2 separate regions of the Homo sapiens genome follow, and region 2 is linked to region 1. The links are contacts of gene promoters, found by promoter capture Hi-C in human tissues and cell types (Jung and others, 2019). All regions are on one chromosome and are shown on one strand. The core of a region is centred on a gene start or on the middle of the fragment in contact, and the rest is flanking DNA. Distances in the headings are between cores, read along the strand shown. Region 1 holds the start of PDCL (phosducin like). Region 2 overlaps RABGAP1 (RAB GTPase activating protein 1).

Region 1 (4,151 bases), core at 1,311-3,810:
GCCCACCTCGGCCTCCCAAAGTGCTGGGATTACAGGTGTGAGCCACCATGCCTGGCCCATTCCACATTTCTAACAGGAAAAATGAGTGGTTCTGTTGGATATTATTAGATAGCTAACTCATGTACACATATTCCTGACAGATGCAAGCTACATTCCCAACAAAGACATCACTATATCTATACAACCAGGAGACTGAATATATTAAAAGGTCTGAATTTGAGACCAACGTGGGCAACATAGCAAGACCCCATTTCTACTTTTTTTAAAAAAGGTTGAATATGGCCGGGCGCGGTGGCTCACGCCTGTAATCCCAGCACTTTGGGAGGCCGAGGCGGGTGTATCACGAGGTCAGGAGATCGAGACCATCCTGGCTAACACGGTGAAACCCCGTCTCTACTAAAAAATACAAAAATTAGCCGGGCGTGGTGGCGGGAGCCTGTAACCTGGGAGGCGGAGATTGCAGTGAGCCGAGAATTGCGCCACTGCACTCCAGCCTTGGCAACAGAGTAAGACTCCGTCTTAAATAAATAAATAAATAAATAAACCAGTGTCGGGCAGTTCTTTATAGCAGTATGAACTGCCTGACACTGGGTTATTTATTTACAGCAGTATGAAAACGGACTTATTAATACAGTATTCTTGAATGGGTGTGTGTTTGTGTGTGGTATTTTTTGACTCCTCTGAGGGCCTCAGCAAACAGCCTCTCTGAAAACAGGCAGGTACAGAAATTTGCAGACAATTTCAGGTGGTCCTAGAACCACAAATTAAGATCCCCTACCCCAAATTAAGAGCCCTATTTTAAACAGTGTATCTTTCTAGAATATTTTCTATGATTCAATTTACCCAAAGCTTTCTATGAGCAACTTCACGGTTGTGTATTGGATACTTCAACAAGGGCTCAGAATTTGAAATCATTTTAGGTTTTAAAAAAGTTGCAAAAACAGACGACAAAGTATGCCTGAGGAAAAAGAAAAAAAAGTTGCAAAATATCATAGTATGGCTTTACCCTGGAAGAAGAAAACAAAGTTGCAAAAATAGGATAGTGCTTCCCTAGATTCTTCATCTAATAGAATCTCCAAAAGTTCACATCTTACATAGTATAATTATTAAAACTATTGATACAATACTACTAATATGAATTAATAGGCCTTATTCAAATTTCGTCAGTTGTCCCATTCATGTCCTTTTTATTTTTCTTTTTTGAGACGGAGTCTCAGTCTTGACCCCCAAGCTGGAGTGCAGTGGTGCGATCTCAGCTGTCTGCAACCTCCGCCTCCCGGGTTCAAGCGATTCTCCTGCCTCAGCCTCCGAGTAGCTGGGATTACAAGTGTGCACCACCATGCCCGGCTAATTTTTGTATTTTTAGTAAAGACGGGGTTTCGCCATGTTGGCCAGGCTGGTCTCGAACTCCTGACCTCAGGTGATCTGCCCGCCTCGGCCTCCCAAAGTGCTGGGATTACAGGAGTGAACCACCGCACCCGGCCCCATGTCCTTTTTCTATACCAGGAGCCAATTCCGGATTTCACATTACATTCCTGCTCTGTCACCCAGGCTGGCCTCCAAGTCCTGGGCTGAGCGATCCTCCCGCCTCAGCCTCCTGCGTAGCTGGGACTACAGGCGCGCGCCACCACTCCTGGCTGCCGCTTCTTTAAAATGGTGAAACCCCGTCTCTACTAAAAATAGAAAAAATTAGCCGGGTCTGCTGGCGGACGCCTGTAATCCCAGCTACTCTGGAGGCTGAGGCAGGAGAATCTCTTGAACCCGGGAGGCGGAGGTTGCAGTGAGCCGAGATCGCGTCACTGCACTCCAGCCTGGGCAAGAAGAGCGAAACTCCGTCAAAAAAATATATATATATATTTTAATCTATGCCCTGTACTTGAGGGATTTGTGCTCTCGGGCAAATTACCGAACGTCTCTGAGTCACTTTTCCGTCTAATAGACGTGATGCGATGAAGAACCAATAAAAAACACACTTTGAATGGCTTCGGAAACTTCGAAGGGAAGTGAATACATTTTTCTTTTCTTTCTTTCTTTTTTTTTGAGACAGTCTCGCTCTGTCGCCCAGGCTGGGGTGCAGTGGCGCGATCTCGGCCCACTTCAACTTCTGCCTCCTGGGTTTAAGCGATTCTCCTGCCTCAGCCTCCCGAGTAGCTTGGATTACAGGCGTCGGCCACCAGGCCCGGCTAATTTCTGTATTTTTAGTAGAGACGGGTTTTCAACGTGTTGGCCAGGCTGGTCTTGAACTCATGACCTTAAGTGATCCGCCCGCCTCGGCCTCCTAAAGTGCTGGCATTACAGGCGTGAGCCACCGCGCCCGGCCTGTGAATACATTTTTCTTATTGCTTGACGCTGGGTCATACAATTCACTTTTTTGTTGTGCAGATTAAAACCAAAACAAAGCAATTAGGAGAGCGTTGTTGTCGAGGTGTTTTGTTCCAAGGTAGGACCCGTAGCTTCTCCCCTGCCCCTCAGCTGGGAGTAGCGGCTTCTGATTGGACAATGCGCGTCCGCCACGACGCAGGAAGGCCGCCTCATTGGTCCGCGCTGTCGGGCTTCGGCGGCTTTTCTCTTTAGCGCTCAGGGCGCTGACCCACTGCTCTTCCTCTTAAGAAAGTGCTCCATTCCTTCCGGCGCCCGGAGCTGCTGGCCCAAAGGGATCCGGAGCGAGCTAGGGCAGGTAACTGCATTGGGGTCCACCGGGAAGCGGCAGCAGCTGCGGACTACGGGAGGGAGTGGGGTTGGCGAGCTTGGGTAAAACTGCCCCTTCTTCGCTCTGTCTCGACCCCCAAGTTCTCCGCGTCTTCCTCGTCCCCTTTCCTCCTCTGGCCCCACCTCCCCCGGGCCCTTCCAGCCTTCCCCCAAAAGCTCCACACACCCCTCTGCTTCCCGTCCGGGGGCCCCGCCTCCTCTGCTCGCGTCTCCAGGGGGCCCGCCCTCGTCTCCTCCCCGCAGCGGTCCCTCCTTTAGGAGCGCAACTCCTTCCCTCCCCTCCGCCGCTGCTGTGTCCCCCGCTTGGCCCATTCCTGGGCCTTAAGTTTGGTTTTGTTCCTTCTTGGCACCTCCACCTGTCTCTCCATGATCCCTGTCTCCTTTGCATCTGACTGCTGGAGTCCTCCGATTCTCCCGTTGACCCAGGCTGCGAGTTTAGCAAATTGTGCAGCGGCATTGTGCTGGGCTTTGGGGATAGAGGTAGTGACTAGAGGTCCCTACGTTCAAGAACTCCTTGCCCGGTGGGAGAGAGTCACTTTGTAAATGGAGTATGATAGGCCCGGTGATAAGTCTTTAAGGCAGCCGCATTCCTGCTGAATTCTCAAGCAGGCCTCTGGGGGCTAAGCTGCATCTTTTCATCAGAATGCCCTTGGCTACTTCTGATGCAGAAGCCTGGTCCTTTATATTTTTAGTTTTTATTTTTTTTTGAAACAGAGTCTCGCTCTGTCTCCCAGGCTGGAGTGCAGTGGCGTGATCTTGGCTCACTGCAACCTCCGCCTCCCGGATTCAAGAGATTCTCGTGCCTCAGCCTCCTGAGTAGCTGGGAAAACAGACACCCGCCACCACACCTGGCTAATTTTTGTTTGTTTGTTTGTTTGCTTTTACTAGTAGAGACAAGAGTTTCGCCATGTTAGCCAGGCTGGTCTCGAATACCTGGTCTCAAGTGATCCTCCCTCCTCGGCCTCCCTAAGTGCTGGGATTACCTGCGCGAGCCCGGCCATCATAGTCCTTTAAACCCTTGGGAGTTATTAAAATCTTTGTATGGGCCCTTCTTTTAAACTGTCAGAATAGGTAGCGTTTCAGAGACCATCCATCCAAGCCCTCAGGGTGTTGTCTGGGAAGTTGAAGGCTGGTGACAGAGAGTGATTGCCTAGACAAATAGTGACTCAGCATTGTACTCTTGATGCCTCTTTTTGGGGTTTTTCCTGAGGATACTTAAACAATTTTTCAATTAGGCAGCAGTCTTAGCTGGTGGGAAAACTAAAAGCACAGATAAAACCACTAGTCAGTAGATTCCTCCAAGCCAGTGCAGGTGGCTTGTACACTTAACTCAGACTAGAGTAATTTATACCTCAGGCTCTTGGAGTCAGGAATCCCTGGGGTCTGGTCCCAGCTCCGTCATTCGCTGTTAAGCTTGGTGAAGACTCTTCCTTTATCTGAGC
Region 2 (3,953 bases), core at 575-3,074, 200 kb before region 1:
GTGAATTTGGGCATGAAACTTATTCTCTCTGTGGTTTCCCATGTATAAAACAAGACAGTTACGCTGATAAAAACAGACAATACAATGGCTGAAAATTTGAAAGAATTCAAAATTTATAAAATTGCAACAAAACTACAAGCTGTTACATTACTGCCATTAGTACAGTAACAGTTCTTTCAACTTTGTTTCTATTTTAGTGAAACCACTCTAGGAGCTAAAATCAAAATATTCATTTAAGAAACTTTAAAAAAAAAAGACTAATAGCCACATTTAACTGAATCAATCAGGAATTAAATGTTTTGCTTTGGATTAAAGAAAAACATTTTCTTCAAAAGACACAATTTATTAACAACTTGGGGAGGCTCTATAAATTTGTATCCTTACAGAAATCCACATGTACATTTGGTCTTTAACCATAACATAGACTCATTCTAGTGTTCCATACCACTCTAGGAAGACTATAGTTAATACTATGTAGTTTCAAATAGCTAGAAGGAGGTTACTGAATGTTCCCAACACAGAGAAATGATAAATGTTGATAAATGTTAGAGATGATGGGTATGTGCACAATTACCATGATCTGATCAGTATATACTATATGTATCAAAACATCCTTATATACCTCATAAGTATGTATGTTATATGCTGATTAAAAAATACAATAAAAAATAAAATAATGCAGTCTCATGATATATTCTCTCTATATTTACTTTGAAGGCTGAGTAACTTTCTATATATATATGACTAAAAGGAAATACATTAAAAATCAACACTATTATTGGATGGTGGGATAACATTCATTAAAAAATCTTTCTTCTTTATAGCTTTCTATATTTTCTGAATTTTCCAATTTCTATATACTCTCAGAACCATATTGATTTAGCAAGATAGAATGATGCTGGGTTGAAGTTGTCTACTTCATGGGGCTCTGTTCCACTTGTTCTTATGCCATCAGAGCAACATTCCTTCAGACAGTCTTTGGTACTCAATCTAACTCAAAATGGACTCCCAAAATGTCAGTTAAAACCTCTTACAGAACAAGAATATAATTACGAACTTACCGATACTTAACCATTTCATTGCTAGCTAAATACTTTCTGACCTGCAAACACGCCAATTTCTATATGGTTCAACCTAATGAAATTAAAACAACTTTAAAAGCCAAAATAATTAAAATAACAAAATGACAGGCTTAAAAAGAAAAGCAGAACGAGAAATGAAATGTAACAAAAAAAGGAAAAGACCTGTTCAAATTATATTTCTTTTTCTCCCAACCTATTCAGAGACTTAACTACTTGTAGATGATAAATTATCTCAGTTCTTCAAATTCCTAAGCTTCACCTCTGGGCATTAGTGTCAACTACCACTTATTATTTGGTAAAAATGAGCTTCACTTTTTGTCTGACATCTTAGCAAGGCTGCAGTGTTCGCCACTGCTCTCCGAGCTTCACGATGCCACCCAAGGACTACAAGAAGAAGACAGACACTGGAAAGTCAGCCAAGAAAGACAAAGACCCAGTGAACAAACCCGGGGGCAAGGCCAAAAAGAAGAAATGGTCCAAAGGCAAAGTTAGGGACAAGCTCAATACCTTGTCTTGTTTGACAAAGCTACATATGACAAACTCTGTAAGGAAGTTCCCAACTATAAACTTATAACTCCAGTTGTGGTCTCTAAGAGACTGAAGATTTGAGGTTCCCTGGCCAGGGCAGCCCTTCTGGAGCTCCTTAGTAAAGGACTTATCAAACTGGTTTCAAAGCACAGAGCTCAAGTAATTTACACCAGAAATACCAAGGGCAGAGATGCTCCAGCTGCTGGTGAAGATGCATGAACAGGTCCAAGCAACTCTACATTTGGAAAAATAAAACTTTATTAAGTAAAAAAAAAAAATGAGCTTTAAACATTGATTAATTAACATATTATTTTAGTGCAGCTGATGTGAGTTTATTTATGTAACTGTCATTCCAAAAATGATTTGAGATACTTTGACTCATCTTTTATTCCTCCCTCGCCCTCATCTCCCACATTCATTCAGTCATCAAGTGAGTGCCAAGGACTCTACCTCTGAAATCCTCTTAAATAGCATCTTTTTCCCCATCCCTTTGCCACTACACCCCAATCCAAGTTGAAATTATCTCTTGCCTGAATTATTAACGGGTCTCGCTGCAATTATTCTTACTCCATGCTAGCCCAAGTAACAGAGTGATCTTTCTAAGCCTGATAATACAGATAATAAGCAAAAAATATATATAATATTAAGTTATTTACACTTAGTATGGACTATGGATTATACTAAGAATTTTCACACATTAATTCTAACAACTCTACAACTATTATTATTCCATTTTACAGATAAGGAAACCAAAGCGTATGAATGTTAAATTGCCCAATTTCAATGGCTAGAATACAGCAGAACTAGGATCTGAATTAAGACAATTTGCCTTTAGATGGAAACCACTTTGCATACTGCCTTATAAACCGGAATATATAACCTGCCTGCTTAAAATGCTTCATTCGCTTCTGTTGCCCAAAACCTTAAATATGCCTTCTGAAGCTTTCAAAGATCTGTTCCCTATCTACCACCTCTCTGGTCTTACCTCCATTCACACTCTATGGAACTGCCTTGAGTACACGCTGTTCTCTCTGACTTTTAAGACCACATCTGTTATGCAGCACCCTATCCCACCCCAACTATCCAACCCCTGGCTAATTTCTGAGCAAGAGACCTTTTAGAACACTTAGGTGAGAAATCCTTCATGTCATATGCAGTACAGCAGTATATATTTTTTCTTCTACAACTCCCATGCAACTTTATGATTGTTTATAGTTAACTGTCTATTTCCTTCATTAGACTGCAGACTTCCTGAAACCAGTGAACAAGTTTATTTTATTTATGGGCATATCCATGAGGCCTACCACAGGGTTGGCACAGGGTAGGCATTCAAAAGGTATTTTTTATTGAATAAACAATGAATGTCCAATGAAACAAAAGGCAATTCTGCTTCTAAGTTGAAAGATCTTTCAAGTAAAACCCCAGCATGGTAACTGTTTAACTCACCTATAATTATTAGGTCGAGGCATATGAAATTGCCTATTTGTGGGTCAAAAACTGTCAAATAGCAATTTTAACATGGACAAACCAAATATGTTTCCAGTCTTATAATTCAGGAAACCTTTAGAACTCCCAGCAAGTATGACTTACATAAACTCACACAAAGGAAAATAACTTCACAGGGATAAGATATAGGGCTTAAAATTATGTTCACAAGTAATAATTTAGAGGGACCTACTGTAGCAATTGCTGTATGACAGCAGACAATACAGTTCTAACATCCACCAGCCACTATTTTCATGTAGGACAAGGCAGCAAGAGTGCTCAGTTGTGAAAAAATGGAATTATGGCCTATTTTGGAGGGCAGGACTCAAACACACTGTCTGATTTTCCAGAATGTCAAAGCTTAAGGAAAAATCAACAGACTACCTCAGCTACCTCAGTTCAGAGAAGAGGAAATGAAGCGGCAGAACTGAAACTAGTACCCAGGCTTCCTCCTCCATGGCCAACATTCTTTTTTGCTAAATCGATCTCCTTTTATTGTTGGGTATCCACAGGCATATGCTTATGATTAAATATTATTCAATAATACAAACCTACCAGACAGAAGTTGTTAATTAAAAAGCAAAACAATCTGCGTAGTAATAACATAATAATTGAATACATTATTTTTTCCAGACTAGCAAAATGTGGCTGGGCCTCCAGGGATTCCTTTCAACAATTAGAAATGTAAATATTGGTTGGCAGGGCACGGTGGCTCACGCCTGTAATCCCAGCACTTTGGAAGGCCAAGCTGGGGGGATCACAAGGTCAAGAGATCGAGGCCATCCTGGCCAACATGGTGAAACCCCATCTCTACTAAAAATACAAAAATTAGCTGGGCATGGTGGCACATGCCTGTAG

Evidence for each region. Contacts are between HindIII fragments. The study calls those that stand out against the background at their distance.
Region 2: a contact is called between a fragment that was not itself captured here and the fragment with the promoter of PDCL in region 1, in 2 of the 25 tissues and cell types used here (adrenal gland and dorsolateral prefrontal cortex).

The regions. Positions count from the first base shown.
Region 1 is chr9:122,826,997-122,831,147 of GRCh38, reverse strand. It overlaps PDCL (phosducin like), which reads left to right and starts at 2,560. Exons shown (of 4, transcript NM_005388.5): 1 at 2,560-2,677. RefSeq lists an enhancer at 2,364-2,658. The HindIII fragment of the contact is 7,303 bases long and covers 1-4,151 here.
Region 2 is chr9:123,027,253-123,031,205 of GRCh38, reverse strand. All of the region lies in intron 13 of RABGAP1 (RAB GTPase activating protein 1), which reads right to left. It also overlaps the pseudogene RPS25P8. Among named protein-coding and RNA genes, the nearest start is that of GPR21, 4.4 kb to the left of the region's middle. The HindIII fragment of the contact is 5,092 bases long and covers 1-3,953 here.